Regions from separate parts of the Homo sapiens genome. Here region 1 is linked to region 2. The links are contacts of gene promoters, found by promoter capture Hi-C in blood cells and fetal thymus (Javierre and others, 2016). All regions are on one chromosome and are shown on one strand. The core of a region is centred on a gene start or on the middle of the fragment in contact, and the rest is flanking DNA. Distances in the headings are between cores, read along the strand shown. Region 1 overlaps LOC105370453 (a long non-coding RNA gene). Region 2 holds the start of PTCSC3 (papillary thyroid carcinoma susceptibility candidate 3).

What was found. Contacts are between HindIII fragments. The CHiCAGO score rates a contact against its expected background, and 5 or more counts as called.
Region 1: a fragment that was not itself captured here is called in contact with the fragment with the promoter of PTCSC3 in region 2 in 1 of 17 cell types (M2 macrophages); the score reaches 5.7 in M2 macrophages.

The regions. Positions count from the first base shown.
Region 1 is chr14:36,530,911-36,534,212 of GRCh38, forward strand. All of the region lies in intron 1 of LOC105370453 (a long non-coding RNA gene), which reads left to right. It also overlaps the pseudogene PHKBP2. Among named protein-coding and RNA genes, the nearest start is that of NKX2-1, 12 kb to the left of the region's middle. The HindIII fragment of the contact is 1,415 bases long and covers 1,111-2,525 here.
Region 2 is chr14:36,174,922-36,178,415 of GRCh38, forward strand. PTCSC3 (papillary thyroid carcinoma susceptibility candidate 3) reads right to left here and starts at 1,801. Exons shown (of 4, transcript NR_049735.3): 1 at 1,377-1,801. The HindIII fragment of the contact is 5,859 bases long and covers 1-2,664 here.

The DNA.
Region 1 (3,302 bases), core at 568-3,067, 360 kb after region 2:
GAGTTAGACATTCTATCATCCCAATTTTGAGCCCTTTCCAGGATATAACTGCCATTATTAAATGGTTATTTTTTCTTACCTAAGACTTTTTAAAATGATCCATGAAGATGTACTCTTTTGAGGATGCAAGGAGAGAATTACAGCATATGTTTTTAAGAGGTTACCTTGTGCTTAATTGAAGTTATTCATTAAAGTCTTACAAACTATGTCTTAGGAGAACATAGAATTTCAGACCAATAGTAAGAAATGCATTAGCCTGGGCCTTTTGAGACCAAAGCTTGGGGAACACTCTTAGATAAAGGAATAGTCTTGGCTGGACCCTTCCTTCTGGCAAGATACATTCCAGGCATTTTGGCATTCATATTACAAGAGAAAGGTAATATATTCCCTATTTTTATAGATGAGGAAACCGAAGCCCAGAAAGGTTAAGTAAATTGCTGAAGATCACATGGCTAGTAAGTAGTAGAACTAAGTTTTGATTGTCAACATGTCATATTCCAAACCACAAGAGGAGTCATTGCCTAAATAATCAGACCTTTAAAGAATTGTCTACCTATCCCCCATTCAACATCTTGAAATTTTATAGTTATTTTGACAGCAAGATAGTTCAAATATCTACTCATCTGCTTGGGGAGTTTCTTTGTATTACTCCCTTGTCTAGCTCCGTAGATGTCAAACTTTAATGTGGACAAAAATTATTCTATCAAAGTATAATCTCAAATTTTGTTACCATTTCATCAGTTTTCTAGGGTACTTTTGGTATTATTAAATTTTACCTTAAGGAGTGTCATATTTTAAACGTAACAACTAATTGTTATGGAACCACACTGTATTATTTCCACTATATTCAATGCTTCTCTAATTTTCAACAAATAGTTTCCAGTCCTTTTGGAAAAATGTAGTAATAAGGAAAACACTGTGGGTAAGAGTATATTTACCAAGTTTATATGACTTTATTTTAGATTTCAGGGAGTGTGATTAATGAACCTGAAGAGTTTAAATTCTTGTTCGTAGTGAGGAAGATGACTTCTCAAAAGACAAAGTTAAGCATGGAAGTTTAATCTAAGACAGCACCTGTCAAACTTTGGAGTGCATAAGTATAACCCAAAAAGCTTGTTTTAAGTGTATATTCTTGAATGGGTGTTCTGAGTCCAGTAATAAAAAGTACATTATCTGACTATGCCTTTTTCAGATAATAATGATAAACTCTGGACAATACACACACACACACACACAAACACACACACAATTATTTGAAGGCACCAGAAAGTGGTCAAAAGAAGAAAGAAACTGAAGAAGTTTCTAGTCATAAATGGAACTACTCACTGGGTAAGAATTAAACTTACAAGGATATTCTACTGAGGACAATACTCATACCACAGAGCACAGGGCAAATAGAAGGTGAGCGAAAAAATCCAGTGTTTTTTATTTGAAGTGTGAGAGGATGGAGTCAGGGGCTGAAAGAATATCTGAAAGATTAAGGTAGGGAACTCCTAGAACAGAGGAATCTAGAGACTCTAAAATGTATTTTTCACAATGGCAGATTAAAATAAAAAATTACTAGGCATGTGAAGACATAGAAGATAATTTCCAAAATCAGAAGAGAATGCAGTCAATAGAAGCAAATCTCCAGGTTTGGAATTAGCAGAAAAGTACATTTAAAGAGGTATATATATATATATATTCGAAGACAAATTAAAATATGTCAATAACTGAACAAATTGGGGAACTCTATCAGAGAAATGGAAGCTATTTTAAAAATGAATTGAAAATTCTCTAAAGAGCTATAGCGTCTGAAATGGAAAAGAAAAATCTCTGGGATGAGCTGAAAGAAGATTGGCGACAGCAGAAGAGCCAACTTGAATATAGAATTTATCCAGTCTGAGAAGCAGAAGGAATAAAAATTAAAAACAAAAACAGCCCCAGTGATCTGTGGGACAATATCAAATGATCAGAAACATAAAGCAAATTTATTTTATGCCCTATTAGATCATTAAACACGCAGAGATCGGTCGGGCGCGGTGGCTCACTCCTGTAATCCCAACACTTTGGGAGGCTGAGGCGGGCGGATCACCTGAGGTCAGGCGTTCCAGACCAGCCTGGCCAACATGGCGAAACCCTGTCTCTACTAAAAATACAAAAATTAGCCGGGCATGATGGTGCATGTCTGTAATCCCAGCTACTCGGGAGGCTGAGGCAGGAGAATCGCTTGAACTCAGGAGGCGGAGGTTGCAGTGAGCAGAGATGGCGCCATTGCACTCTAGCCTGAATGACAAGAGTGAAACTCTGTCCCAAAAAAAGAAAAAAAACATGCAGAGATGAATTTTACATTTATAAATTATTTGTATCTTTCAGTGAATATTATTATTGTTGTTCGCATGGCCATCAAAATTTTTACCTCTGAATAAAGGCATTTCTTAACATTGGATTGGTTATAGCGTGGAAGAAATTCAATCACTCCACCAATGTTGTGGCAAATACCTCAAAAGCACGATCAGTCCTATCATTTATGGCTGCCTTGGTTAAGCTTCAAGAATAAAACTTAACACACTTCTAGACAATATACCTCAAAAGAGATTCTTCTACTTGCTTCACTAGCTAACCAAACAGAAATCATTATTGCTTGGCTTGGCTTCTCCTTCCAGCAGAAAATTAATCAACACCTTTGTTAAATATGCTGTATAGATTTCTCTTTTTTCTGGGGGAGTGGGGACACTGTTGTTAAAGTAAGTCATCTCACCTTGTTTTTCAGCTTCCTTTAGTTGAATCTCATATTTTTGAAATTCATGAAATGCTTCTTTCATCAGTTTGTCTAGATCTACTTTTTGTCTTGAAAGTCCAACTAAGAATTTTGTTTTCAGTATAACGGATATAACCATTAGTAACTCCACAGCGATCTGTCTGTATCTATATATTACTAGCTAGTTAATATTTCCCAACATATCTTAAACAAGAGAAAGAAATTCATAGAAGCCAGACACTCCTCCAATTATATTCTCTTCATATATGATTGTATCTCACAGGTTGGTTGCTATGGTATTTGATTCCTAGTTACCATGATACTATTAAGTGTTTGCTGCAGAATCTGCCATGCTTGGTCACAGAACTCAGTGAAAGTTCTATTAAAAGACTTATCAATTTGATGCCTGTTCAGTCAACGTCTTCCATTTTGTTGAGGCTGGAGAACCTCCAACAGAAGTTAAGCAAAGTTCAGTAGGTATTAAGCTGGGTCCTGCTTAAACTGGTGGACTTTATCAACCTGATGCATGCAACAGAAAGGAACAACTCTCATACATTTTAAA
Region 2 (3,494 bases), core at 551-3,050:
CTGCTTTTCCCCAAGCACTGCTCAACCTCTAGAATCTTGGTTCCACTTTCAACTGCATAGCATCTGACATCTAGTAAAGCTCGGGTCGCCTCACACTGCACATGTACAATCCAACTCTCAGTCACTGATTTGCAGGAGATCCCTGCTGGATTCTGGGGTCCTCTCTCTCTACATAGCTCCCTCCATTCAGGCTCCATAGTTTCTACTTGCTTCAGTTACCCTGAACGCTGATGTCTGCCTCCCCAGCTCAACAGGACTGCCATGCTCTGCTCAGACTCCAGGTCTCTGTACCATGGTCAGGAAATTGTCTCCAGGCACAGAGCTGAGGCAATCATGTAGCTTACCTCATGCACTTCCCTTCTCTCAAGGAGCACAGCCTTACAGTGCTTGTTATCCACTGCCTGAAATCGGATGCTTCACATATTCTGTCCCGTTTTAGAGTAGTTTTGGGCTAGTACAGTATCAGTCATCCCATTATGGTTAGAGATGGAAGTTCAGGAGTCAGTATCTTGATTTCAACCCTACCTGAAATCACATTTCCACGTTGGGAAGAACATAAGAACCACAGCACTTTCTATGAAATGTCATAAAATAGGTCCCAGCCAGTTGCAAAAACTCAAAAGTTCATGTGGCTTAAAATCATATAGGCTATGCCTAGCAAAATGCCCGATATGCCCGACAGAAGCATGTAGTTTTATAAATTATTAAGTCATTTGCTGGATACAGAAAGAAAGGAGGAAGAACCCACTCCTTAGAGTTATGACTTATCTACCAATTAACTCTATGATCTTGGGCCTACAGCTATATTTAACTTGTCTTTGGGATCACTGGAGTAACTTCATTGAACACTAAGAAAACCTAGTTAGAAATTTGTATTTGTAATTTGCTTTGATTATGTCCTCTGAAAGATACTTTCCAAAATGAGACATGATTGTTGTGGTTTTCTTCCAGAATTAAACAGGTTTCCAAGTTGGCAACTGGGATGACAACTTGGGAGGGCTTCTCCCAATTTCAGAAAGAGCTTTATTCCCATAAGTGTATTAAATTCATGTAGAAAGAAAAGAACCAACAACAGAAGACAAATGTGGGTAGCAAATAGCAGTTTGGGAGTGTCAAGGAGGTGGGAGAAGGACTTTCAGTTAAGAAAACGATACAAATACATACATATGTACATAATGTCATGTGAGTGATTAAACTGTCCTTTCTCCAGAGAGCAATATTAAGGTTTTCAGAGGCCAAAACAGTATACTAATGCAATATAATTATACCTTTGGGTGAAACATCAAAGATGCAATGAGTGAGAGCTAAGGAGGCTACAACCCAGCTGAAATGCCATTATTTAATGAAAGACCAACAGATGCAACAAGAACACTTACCACCATGGTCTAGTGTTCCCTCTCAGTGCAGTCTTAAGCCTAATTCCTCTTCTGCTTGGCCTTTGACCTGGTCTCTCCAGTTGACTTTTCCACAACAGTCTTCACTCACAGGCAGAGTAGAAATGGGATGCAAGAAAAACAACAGGTCCCAGATCACTTTTTTCCTCTTTCTCTATTCCTCTTTCAGTTATGAATTCTGTTTTGCTTTGGAGAAGAAAAATGCGATCCCCCTGGATATTTTTTCTGGGCCATCACCAATTTATCCTGTTCCCCCTACCCACCCCTGCCAGTATTTTATACTTTACTCTTCAAAAACTTGAGATGTCTTGAGTACTGAGAAGTCTGAAGGAGTTTGTACTGGGGCCTGGCCTCCGATATTTCTGCTGGATAAGCTATTCCTTCATGCCTGACGGTGAATGTGCGTTATGGACTTGCCCAAGGAATTTCTGGAACTGGGCCTGCAAGTCTGTTTTAGATTAATGCAAATGGGATTTGGGGTAGCTGTGCCTACAAATATCCTGCAAAGATATTTTGTATCAAAATGACAATATTAAGATGAATCAACTCAATGAAGTCTTTGGGTACCGCAAAAATGTTGAATGTTGCATAATCACTTTCTGTTGATCTTTTTCTTATTACTATTATATGTGAATATACACGAGGCTTCCTGCCTTCATTGCCACAATTTAATGGGACAAACTGCAGGCACACAGTCCTTCCTCACTTTCTGTGCCCATTTCTCTGACATACATCATTGCTGAAGTCTGTTGTTTAAGCAGTGAAAAAAACATGTAATGTTTCATATAAGGATTATCCATAAAACCCCAAAGTCCTTAACTCTTCTGTCCTTCTGAGGCCATCCTTTTCTTTAACAGCCATCCCCTAAATTGTGGGAAGTCTAACGTGTTCTTCAATTTTCCAGCAGATTCTAGAGTTGAGACTTGGTTCTTCCCATTTTTCTCTTGCTCCTGACTTTTTCAATTTCTTCCCTCCATCTGCCCACTGCCTTTCCAGGCTGCCCCAGCCCATTCTAGTTTGCTTTGCTTCAAAATATGGACTCACCACCCTTTTCTTCATGATAATGCTCTTGTGATTAGCAGTGTGTTATTGTATTTTCTTGTTTTATATGAGCAATGTAGAGGAATGATAGCACAAAACATGGACTGACTTAAAATTGAATCCTGGTCACACTATTGCTAAAGTTTTCTGAAGTCTCCCCCTCGAGGAGTCCTTACTGGTGGCACTCTCAACTGGGTATTTCTGGGGCCTGCTCCCTGGACTCTAAGAAAGCTTTTTGTTTTCAATGTCTCTCTCTCATGGTCTGACCTTCCTCAGCCCTGCAGTGGTGGGTGGAACCCACTCCAAAATTCCTGTGACTTGATGGTGCAGAGAAACTTGGCTCTCTTTCAGGCTGACCCTCTCCTACCCAGACTCTCCTGGGGTCCACCCCCACACTCAGAAAAGCCCACTGAATGCTTTCCCAACAAAAGAGCAGTTTGCTCTTTAAGAGGAATTCTGCCACCCTCTTAGAGCAACCAGTTAAAATGACTGTCAGCTTACAATTTTTAGTTATAACCAGAGTTTCTCTAAGTTTGCAAAATGTTTTAAATAAAGCAATTTGACAGAAGATTTAATAAGGTGATAGACAAAAATGGGGGGTCCTGTTGTCAAGAGTGGTAATTCTAAATGAGGCAGGAAAAGTTATGGATAGAAGAAAAAGAGTTTGTGATTTACTGTTTCTTCCAGTGACCTCCGCAATGTGTGGAAGAGAATAGGTTAGACAGGCAGCAATAATTATCTCACTTGTAGCTTCTCAAAACCTGGAAAATAAGGCAAGGTCTGGTGGCTCATACCTGTAACCCAGTCCTTTAGGAGGCAAAGGCAGGAGGATCTCTTGAAGCCAGGAGTTCAAGACAAGGCTGGGTAACATCAAGAGACCCTCTCTCTACCAAAAATAAGAAATTGGTCAGGATAGTTGTGCGTGCCTGTAGTCCCAACTACCCCAGAGGCTGAGGTGGGAGGATCACCTGAGCCTGGGAGGTTGAGTCATGATTGCACTATTGCACTATTGCCTGGACAACAGAGCAAGACCCCATTTCAAAAAAAACAAACCTAGAA